2 separate regions of the Homo sapiens genome follow, and region 1 is linked to region 2. The links are contacts of gene promoters, found by promoter capture Hi-C in blood cells and fetal thymus (Javierre and others, 2016). All regions are on one chromosome and are shown on one strand. Each heading gives the region's core, a stretch centred on a gene start or on the middle of the fragment in contact. The rest is flanking DNA. Distances are from core to core; before and after follow the strand shown.

The links. The method cuts DNA at HindIII sites, captures the fragments that hold promoters and counts their contacts. A CHiCAGO score of 5 or more calls a contact.
Region 1: the fragment with the promoter of PPP2R1B here is called in contact with a fragment that was not itself captured in region 2 in 1 of 17 cell types (non-activated CD4 T cells); the score reaches 6.7 in non-activated CD4 T cells.

The regions. Positions count from the first base shown.
Region 1 is chr11:111,763,255-111,768,477 of GRCh38, reverse strand. It overlaps PPP2R1B (protein phosphatase 2 scaffold subunit Abeta), which reads left to right and starts at 2,089. Exons shown (of 15, transcript NM_002716.5): 1 at 2,089-2,230; 2 at 3,094-3,184; 3 at 3,573-3,673. The coding sequence starts at 2,117. It also overlaps a transcript of ALG9 not described here. RefSeq lists enhancers at 2,024-2,073, 2,094-2,273, 2,160-3,063. The HindIII fragment of the contact is 3,920 bases long and covers 1,383-5,223 here.
Region 2 is chr11:113,312,121-113,317,362 of GRCh38, reverse strand. It overlaps TTC12 (tetratricopeptide repeat domain 12), which reads right to left and starts at 2,780. Exons shown (of 22, transcript NM_017868.4): 1 at 2,745-2,780; 2 at 1,048-1,120. The coding sequence starts at 1,105. It overlaps TTC12-DT (TTC12 divergent transcript), which reads left to right and starts at 2,907. Exons shown (of 5, transcript NR_199709.1): 1 at 2,907-3,033. RefSeq lists silencers at 2,410-2,509, 2,402-2,696, 2,720-2,969. The HindIII fragment of the contact is 180 bases long and covers 1,334-1,513 here.

The sequences.
Region 1 (5,223 bases), core at 840-3,339, 1.5 Mb after region 2:
AAATTGTTTTTATTATGCTGTGGTTATTTAAATTTACGAATATAAAGTAGGAAAAATGTGCTTTTATTTCTAGTTCTTACACAGCTAAAAAAAAACCACAACAAATTTACAAATTAAATACAAATGAAACCACAAAATGAATACTATTCAATTAAAAATATTATAGTAATTTAACGTGACAAATGATGTATTTTGCTAAAACTGTCATCCGTCGTATTGTTACTATGGTGTTGCCTGCTATAGCTCAGCTTCTTTTGTGTTCAACATGCCTATGCCACCAAGTGACTCCTGATATCTTAATTTTCTCACCATTTTTCTGTTACAACTACCAAATAGTGCAATCTCATGATGCATTTGGCTTTCATTTTGTGCATGAAAGTATCATTGTCATTTTAAAACCACCTCTGTTCTTTTCTCATTATCCCAGAACAATAAAAGCAGCACTAAAACACACATGTAAATGTGGGTGCTGAAATTGTGTGGCAATACTTGGTTGTAAGGTGGTCACCCAAATAATTCAGAATATGCTTATACAAATCTAAAAAATATGAAAATGAAAATAAAATTAAAACCCTAGAGAATACATTCGCAGACATAATTTGAGAAAAACTGTTCAGGTCTGCTGGTTCCCAAACTTTCATTACTATCAAAGGCTCTAGCTATTGTGCTTACTTCCAAGAACCCCATTTATTTATTTATTTATTTATTTATTTATTTATTTATTTATTCATTATTTCATTCATTCATTCAAAGGCTCTATTGTGCTTACTTCCAAGAACGCTATTTATTTATTTATTTATTTTAGAGACGGGGTCTCACTCTGCCGCCCAGATTGGAGTACAGTGGTGCGATCCTGGCTCACTGCAACCTCTGCCTCCCGGGCTCAAGCGATTCTCATGTCAGCCTCCCGAGTAGCTGGGACTACAGGCTCCCGTCACCAGCCCAGCTAATTTTTGTATTTTTTAGTGGAGACAGGGTTTCACCAAGTTGGCCAGGCTGGTCTCGAACTCCTGGCCTCAAGTGATCCGCCCGCCTCGGCCTCAGAATCCCATGTTTTAAAAAAGTTTGTCTCCTACACTGCATTTATAGTTTTATTAATCAGGCACATAGAATTACCATTTCGGAGCTTGTGATCACCATATGTAGTTATCACTCCAAGCTGCTTAAATTCCAGTCTAAAACAAACAAAACATTCTAATTATTCTGTGCTACCCTGACAGGGGTAAGTGAAAACTTTCCATTCAGGTTTGTAAGAACGAGCTCCCAGACCTCCACCTCTTCCCCTTGCTGCCTCTGAGGACTCTTGGAGGTCTAGGGAGGCCAGTTTGGGTTTTCTTGCTCAAGAAAGTAGCCACCCCACCCAATTTGGAAGGATTAAAGCTTGTCCTAGTTTTGCTTCATTGTTGTACTTCTAGCATGCTAAAGAGCTAAAAAATGGGAGGAAGAAAATACAACAGAAGGCACCATTCCAGTACCAAACTGAAAAGAAACACAAAAACAAGAGAGCAGCATGTTTTTAACAGCTTGCGTGGAAAAAATATTGACTGGGGAGTTTGGACAGCACTGTTCATTTTCTCTCACCGCCCGCGTTATTTGTCTTACGGAGCAGGAGCCAGATACCATTCTGGAGAAAGAGCCGCGGGAAGAGGTGGAGGGGTTCTGTGGAAGTTTGAGTCTGAGCGGAGAAATTAGGGCTGGAGATCCAGTGGCTCAGGGCCAGGAAGAAGTCAGGGGAGGTGCTAAAGCCTTTTTCCTCCTGGCCTCGGGCACTCTCTTTGGTCCGCCTGAGTCTTAAGAGGGCACAGCGCAGATCATTCAGGTAGGTTCCTGGCTCCTTCAGACTACAACGAGCTGGATGAATCCCTGTCCCTGTTTCTTTCGGCTGGGGAAAGGACGCAGGGGTTCCATTCGCTTTCTTAGCCCACCCGTCTTCTTGAGTTCAGACCTACAACTCCTGCAGTGGGGGTCAGAAGGGAGCCTTAATCATCGGGACAGAAACGCGGCTCCCCAACTTCGGCTAAACCAGCGTGGCGGCCTTCGTCCCTACTGCCTGGGCGCGGGGCGGGGCCTGGGCGCGGGGCGGGAGGCGGTGACCAGCAGCAGGAGGAGAAAGAACATGGCGGGCGCATCAGAGCTCGGGACCGGCCCAGGAGCAGCGGGTGGAGATGGAGATGATTCGCTATACCCGATCGCGGTTTTAATCGACGAGCTCCGCAATGAAGACGTGCAGGTACTGGACTGAGGCCGGGGACCCGAGGCGAGACCGGCTGGTCGCGTGGTAGAGAAGGGGGAAGGCCTGCGTCGCGGTGGGGGTGGCCGAGGTACTGAATGAGTCGGACTCGTAGCAGAAACTTGAAGGGGAGGCGGGGAATGCTCCGCGAGGGGCTGTGGTGACACGCCCCGACCCTCCCGGGTACCTCTCTAGTAACCTTGCTTCGGACCCCCTGAGGCGTCCGCCCGGAGCCTTGCCCTTCCCGGGCGGTTGTCGGGGAACCCGCTTCCCGCCTGGGCGCCCCATCCGGGCCGTGAGGTGGCCGCGTCTCTTGGGCGAGGGAGCAGGAGAAGCGCGGTGCCAGGCCGAGACGGGGCTGGAGCGGCTGAGGGGCGCAGGATGCCCAGAAGCCCTTTGAAGTGCCCCTGGATCCCTTCATCTCGGCTTGGAACTGGCTCGGCTTGTTGGGTAGAAAGCGGGGGTGGGATGGCCGATTAATCTGGACGAGTAGTGTATCCGCTCTGTGGGAACTTTTCTTTGAAACCACAGGTGTTGTATTCAACCGTTTCACCTGCTTCACCACTGCCAAAGTGCTCTCTTTTTAAAATTATCTTACTTCCTAGGTGTTGTATTGTCTTTCCTTCATTTCTCTTCCGGTCCCTTCTGAGTGTTTCTCCTGGGAAATCCTCCGCCGGCTAGTGAGGCCGAGTTACACTTCTTTTTGGAAGTCCTTATGAGCTTCCTTAACAGTAAAATCTAAATGAAAGGTTATCTTCATTCTTACCCCTGTGTCATAATTTCACCTGTTAGCACCTTTTGTCTTTTGATCTAAATTCAGCCGTTTCTTTACATTGTTCTTCTTTCTACTTTCTTTTCTGAAGCTCCGACTCAACAGTATTAAGAAGTTATCAACAATTGCCCTAGCACTTGGAGTAGAAAGGACCCGAAGTGAATTGTTGCCATTTCTTACAGGTATGTGAATCTTTGTTTAAAGAAAGGTAGGGACATTCCATTTTCCAGTAGCTTTCAACACTGACTTTTTTAGAGTTTATTACCCACATTAAAATGAGCCAGGTGTTTTTTGTGCAAAAGAAACAGAACAGAGTATATTGTTAGTTGTGGCTAGATATATTCAAACATCAACCATTTAGCTATTGAAAGTAATTGATACGGGAGTATGAATTTCTAATTCGTTGTGCAAAGCAGATACAGGAAGACGGTTGAGAAGAAAGAAAATGCTGTTAGGATTTTGACTGGGTCACCTTCCTGGTCGCATAGTGAATCTGTTCCTAGTTTTGTGTCAGTGTCCAGCTGTGGGAGAGCTATCCATGTTGATGAGTCCTGTTGTTGTCACTTCCAGATACAATTTATGATGAAGATGAGGTACTATTAGCTCTTGCTGAGCAGCTGGGAAATTTCACTGGCCTAGTGGGAGGTCCTGACTTTGCCCACTGTCTGCTGGTGAGTATTTATAAGCTGCCTACCCTCCTTCTACAACTTTTGCAGTATAAATGATACATTGTTTGGTGATAGACACACTGCAGCATTTTTTATGCAGATCTTTTTATGGGCAGATAGTCATAATGTTAGTCATTGAGAGAATAAGTACTGTAGGCACTTTGCACTCAACTCCTTTTTTTTTTTTCTGTAAATAAGAGAACTTCGTCCTCCTTTTCTGCGTCTGTAGACTTATTAGTTTAGATGTAGGGAGAAAAAGGGTTTGATTGTTTTTATGGTTCCCCCGCGCGATGGTGGAAGTTTTAATTCTCACCTAGCAGCATTTTGTCTTTGTCAGTTTAACTTTTGCTTCTGACTTTGTGAGTTTGATGAATTTAGTTCAATTTAATTGACATTTATTGAGAGTCTACTTTATCAGACACATCATAGTTTACAATGTTAATGTTGAAGAAGACCAATGTGAGGGGGCTTGGTGGCACAAGCCTGTAGTACCAGCTACTCAGGAGGCTGAGACTGGAGGATCACTTGAGCCCAGGAGTTTGAATCCAGCCTGGGCAACATAGTGAGACCCCCATCTCTTAAAAAAAAAAAAAGACCACCAAAATGAATCTAATGAGGTCACTGCCTTTATGTGTCAGCAAATAATTACCGTGCAGTCGTAAATGGAAAGATATAAGTACCCACAAAATACCCACGTAATAGAAGGGAGAAAGGGATTCACTCCGGGTGATCAGGGAAGACCTTGGGAGATGATGTCTGAACTAGGTTTTAAAGGATGACCAGGAATTCAACAGTTGGACAAGGTAGGGGTGTATGTGTCAGAGCTTTGAATACTGGGTATGTAATACTGATTCTTGTGATTTCTGTCTCTAGTTCTGACTTTTCCATGGAACTCCTGAGGTAGATTGATTAATAGATAAGTATGAATATATATATATAGAGAGAGAGAGAGAGAGAGAGTTTTTTTTCTGTCTATGTATATAGGCCTATGCTTTTTTCTACTTGTATGTCAAACAGGTATTTCAAACTTAACATACCCAAAACAAAACTTAGCTTTATCCCCCAAATACACCTCTCATTTAGTTGTTCCACTTCAGTAAATGGTATCACTATCTTCCCACTTGCACAAGCCAAAACCTAGAATGTATTCTTGAATCCTCTGTGCCTTGTTCCACACATCTAATCCATTAGTAATTCCTATAGAGTCTACGTATATTTCAAATAAGTCCACTTTCTTCCATCCCTCCTATTACCAGCCTAGTCCAGACTGTCATCTTTCCTCTAGATTGCTGTAGTAGCTTCCTAGCAATGCTTTCCACTCTTGCCTCTCACCCGACTCTTACAGTTCACATCACCCAGCAGATGGCTCACTCTCTGCTATAGCTCTTAGAAAATCCAAATTCTGTACCTTAGCTTACAAGGCTTTTTATGACCCGCCTCTGTAGGATTATCATATGCCCAGTGGTACTGCATGAGAAGAGGTGACAGTAGGCAGGGAACAGACTGCAAAAGGCCTTGATAACCTCTTCCATTCACATTGGTCATCTTTCTGT
Region 2 (5,242 bases), core at 174-2,673:
ACCAGGATGAAGGTGAGGGTAGGAGAAGCAGGTTTTATTTGGGAGGGGGAGGGCAAAGGGGAGGGAAAGAGATGATGCCTCAATTTTGGACACATTTAAGTTTATTTGTGGGATACAGTAGGTATGACAGTACCATAGAGGCAGAGGCTCAGAAAAGAAGGCTAAGTGTCCATGTAGATGTGGGGGTCATGAACAAACAGGTGGCAGGTAAAGCTACATGTTTAGACCAGCTGAAGAGAAAGGTGGCAGTGGGCCAAGGCCAGAGCTCCATGGAACAGCATTCAGGGATAAGCATTATTCATGTATCATTTACGATGTCACCCAAGCTAGCTTTAAAACCACTTTATTCCTTGAACCCATACAATCTGCTACAAGCAGCAATTTCAGCATATTGCCTGTATTTACTATGTAAGGTCTGTTTGCTTGTTGGTTTGTTTGTTTCTATACTCAAGCAAGCTCCCTGAACAGGGACTGACAGGTTTGGAAATTCCTGAATGTGATCTGTGGGATCAGAGTACATTTCTTTGAGATCCAACCTGCCTGAACTTGGGAAAGGACTTTCTTGTCTAGAGAGAGAGAAGGGAATGATGATCATAAACCATCCATGTAATTTGATGGATCCTAAAGGAAAGCCATTTGATTTTGCCTCTGCAGCTCTAAAACAGAAATGGCTCTACTCTAAAACGGGAGGAATCTCACACTGATCAATGAGGTTCTTGACCCTTGAAGGGAACAGCTGGGTTCATTGTCAATGGGGAAACAGCAGCTGGTTTTGACTGGATTCCACATAGAAGGATACAAAATATGGAAGAAAACCGTCAGCCTGAATTCCTATCAGAATGTTAACAGTTTCTCTGATACCAATTAACAGCCAGAAAATACAGCCCTGAGGCTATAACTTGTTTCTCAATACCCTTCTCTTTAATTTCAATTACATTTTTTTCCTAAGAGTTATAAACCTGTCAAGCCACCCAGGAACTTAGAGCAATCATTTATCTACTCCACTTCTCTAAAGCAGAAATTAATTTATGATTTACTAGTACTTACAGATTTCATCCACATTTTTAAGAAATTTCTGCAAATCTTTCTCTTTATCAGCATCCATTGTGAACCGGAATCCCTAAGGGATGCAGCATAATGGTGAAATTAATAATAATAAAGCACTAAACAGAACGGTCAGGCTTATTAGCCTTCTAAAACTAAGAGCCAAGTGATTATTTTTATGACAGTTTTGTTTATGTCAATGAATAACAGCAGGGTGATCCCTTTCATTCCAACTGCTGTTTTAGGCCAAGAGGCACTCATTTACGTGCGGCAATGCTTCCAGAAAGCTTCCAGCCCTCCTTCCAGTGCAGAAAACGCTCTGCAAATAGTTCTTCCAAAGCCAACATCAACCCCGGCGATTTAGGGACCTGGCATGGAGATGAGAAGAGAGCAGATGACAGGTTGCCAAGGATAGAGAAATACACTAACACCTGACTTTGATCATGACAGGCTGGTCTAGTCAGAAGCTTAAATGTGGATGTGTGACAGGTAACAAACTTGGGGCAATTTGCATCTAAATGTCCATACTTGTTTAAAATCTGCCTTTGGCTTGTTTCTGAAGAGTGAAGAAAGGGTACAAATTGACTGAAGGGATTAGAACATAATGTTACCATGCTCACCAGCGTCTCTTCTGCTCTAGGTACCTCAGATATTATTTTACAGTTGTTTTTGTGCGAGAAGGCCCCGTGGTGTACCCAGCAGTACTCAGTGGTTCATCCACAGATCATAAAAATCATCGGGAAGATTGTTAAATATACAGCTTCCTCAGCCGTAGCCCGAGATTTCAAGTCAGTAAACCCGGGACATTGCCCAGACACGAATATAGATTTTAAACACTTTCCAGGTGATTCTCATTTATGGCCAGGTTTCATAGTAGTGTAACACGCTTCTAACACGTAATCTGCCACGAACAAACTACGAGTGATTTAATCGAGTCTCAGTGTCCTCATCTCCACCAGTTACAAGCTGTGTGATTCTGGCTAAATTCACAACCTCTCCGAGCCTCAGAGTCCTCACCCATACTATGGGAACAGTAAGAGAGAAACTACGAGGACTATTCTGGGGACTGATGTAAAGCACCAGGCACGCGACGAGTCCTCACCGTGAAGCACCCTTACCTATATAAAACAGGGGGTGGGGTTGCGGCTTAACTGAATAATCGCTAGGGTTTCTTCCAGGTCAAATCTTTTCAACTCCCACGGAACAGAGGCCTAGTCCAGTGAATTAATCTGCCCAACGGTATGAAGGTTAGAAGGCAGGCGCGCGGGTGCATGGACAGGAGACAACCTCTGTCTCCCAGGGCATGGATCTCAGGGTCCTCACTGCCTGGCCAGTGCCCCCCTACGCTAGGGTGAGAGGGCCAGAGCCAGGTGATGGCGAAGCGGCGCCGCGCTCAGTGCTTCACTCGGTAGGGCTGCGGCAGCGGGGACCTGTGCCCGAGCCCCGCGCGGAGCCTGCCCCAGACGCGCGCTGCCCGCCGGGCGCAAAGAGGCCAGGCCGCACGCACTGTTGCCCAGCAACCGCTCCCAGGCGTCCGCAAGTCCCGGGCCCTCCATGCAGGTCCCAGACCGCAGCCGTCCCAGACCGCAGCCAAGACCTTCCCATGCTCTGGGGCCCAAAGCAGCGTCCTCTGCTCGGCTCTGAAGGCCAGTGCAGGACCAGCTCCCAGGGGGGATTCCGGGGTACCCCGCGGCACCGACCTGATTCGCCCAGCTTTGGACAGGAAATGGCGCAGTGACCTGCCTGGGCTGGGGCGGGGCCAGGAGCCAGGGGCCCGGGGCGGGACCAAGGGCGGGGCCAGGAGCCAGGGCCCGGGGCGGGACCAAGGACGGGGTCAAAAGCCAGGAGGCGGGACAGGGGGCGGGCATGGACACGCGATCAGATTCGCTACCGCAGAGCTCTAGCTCCGGAGCGCGCCAAGTTGAAGGCCAAAGTCGAGGTTGGGATGCCCGATGCCTGGCGCGGGGAGACGGAGGAAGCAAAGTGCTGGTAACTAAAGCAGCGCCTGCTGCTCGCCTTTTTTCTACTGAAGAAGGGTTGTCTCACTCCCGTTAGCTTAATATCCTTGCCCAAAATGTAAAGTCTCCAGTGTACTTGTGAATCCGGTTTTGTTCATTGATAAATGTGTGAGTTAGAAGACTCACACATTTATCCTTAGGAAAGTTATTTGAGTAACCTTTTTAATCCTCAGTTTTCTCACCTGTGAAATGGAGAAATGGCACTTTCTCATAAGGTTTATGGTTAAAGTGCTGTAACCGCCCAATAGGTTCACCTTGCTCACTGCCTAAACAGAGTCGATTTATCAAGACAGGGGAATTGCAATAGAGAAAGAGTAATTCACACAAAGCTGGCTGTGAGGGAGACCGGAGTTTTATTATTACTCAAATCAGTCTCCCTAGCTTTCAGGGATCAGAGTTTTTAAGGATAATTTGGTGGGTAGGGGTCAGTGAGTCGGGAGTGCTGATTGGTAGGCTAGGAGATGAACTCACAGGGAGTCAAAGCTGTCCTCTTGTGCTGAGTCAGTTGCCAGGTGGGGGTCATAAGACCAGATGAGCCAGTTTATTCATCTGGGTGGTGCCAGCTGATCCATCGAGTGCAGTGTCTGTGAAATATCTTAAGCACTGATCTTAGGTTTTACAATAGTTGATGTTATCCCCAGGAGCAATTTGAGGTTTAGAATCTTGCAGCCTCTAGCTGCATGACTCCTAAACCATAATTTCTAATTTTGTGGCTAATTTGTTAGTCCTGAAAAGGCAGTCTAGTTCCTGGGCAAGAAGGGGGTTTGTTTGGGAAAGGGCTGGTATTGTCTTTGTTTCAAAGCTACACTATAAACTAAGTTCCCCCCAAAGTTAGTTTGGCCTATGCCTAGGAATGAACAAAGACAGCTTGGAGATGAGAAGCAAGATGGAGTCGGTTAGGTCAGATCCCTTTCACCATCTCAGTTATAATTTTGCAATGGTGGTTTCAGTGCCTGGTACCTAGTCAGTAGGAACAGGTGGCACGTGACATCCGGGGAATCATAGGGTTTAGAACAGAATGAGCTAATAGGCACATTCATTCATGCCCCAAATACATGCACACAGCCCTAAAGAAATTTCAGTCTGTTTTTCTAAACAAAATCTCAGAGTATTATGTGCAGGGTTACCAATGGAAAAAAAGCAGGTTTAGGGGAAACTTGAGCTTAAGTTCACGGTCAGAAACACCCGGAACTTCTTGGCAAATGAGTGCTTTATGGAAACCTGTTTGGCAGGGAACAAGGAGCCCCTAGAGATGGAATTCGCCAGAGGGGAGAGGGATCCAGGCATGGCCAGCTAGCTCTAGTGTTGATTCCAAGTACAGCCTGTTGACTCTCTTGTGGCCTAGGCCCCATAGGATGCATGCCTGTGTCCTGTAGAGAACAGAAGAGCTGTTTGGCTGAAGTCTCTATGATGCATTGGTACACATACCATCCTGCTTGGGTACCCCTCTAATGCAGTATAACACAAAGGGGCCACGGATGTTCTGCTCCTCTTGGCAGCTGAATGGGTACAGCATCAGCAGAGTGAGTCTTTTGGCTCATCAACTGCAGCAGGAGACCTGGGGATCCCAGCAGGACATGGTCACAGTGGCTGTCCCAAGGGAATGAGGTGCCTCAGGAGAAGTAGCAGACAGTGTAGGTGCCTGGCAGGAGCAAGGACGTTGATGAGCACAGGCTAGGCACACCATAGGGATCCTCAGAAAGATATAGGGTACTTCACAGTGACCTTCCAGCCTGTGGGAATTGATGGAGACAAGAACCAGTGATGTTTTGGTTATCACCATTAGTATCACCCCATTTTCCTCTTAGGCCTGTGAGGCCTTGAATACATGAAGGCTATATGCCTATGGTCCCCAACCTCAGGGTGTTTCTTATCACATTGAGGCCAATAGTTCCAAATCACTTACTTCCTATCCTACTACTCTTTTCACTAAACTCCTTTCCTAGGTTCCAGAGGTATCTGCCCACAACTGACTGTACCACCTAACCATTCACTCACACATTTGTTCAGCTAGTGTGAGTGGCCTGTAGTGTGCTAGATGCAGCGGAAGGCCCCTGGGGTGCACTTGACAAATAGTCATCACATGCTAAGTGGTTAAGAGCTGGGGCTCTGGAGCCATTTTGCTGGGTTCAAATCTCACATCTCCACCTATTAGCATTCATTAAAATGTCTTGAAGCAC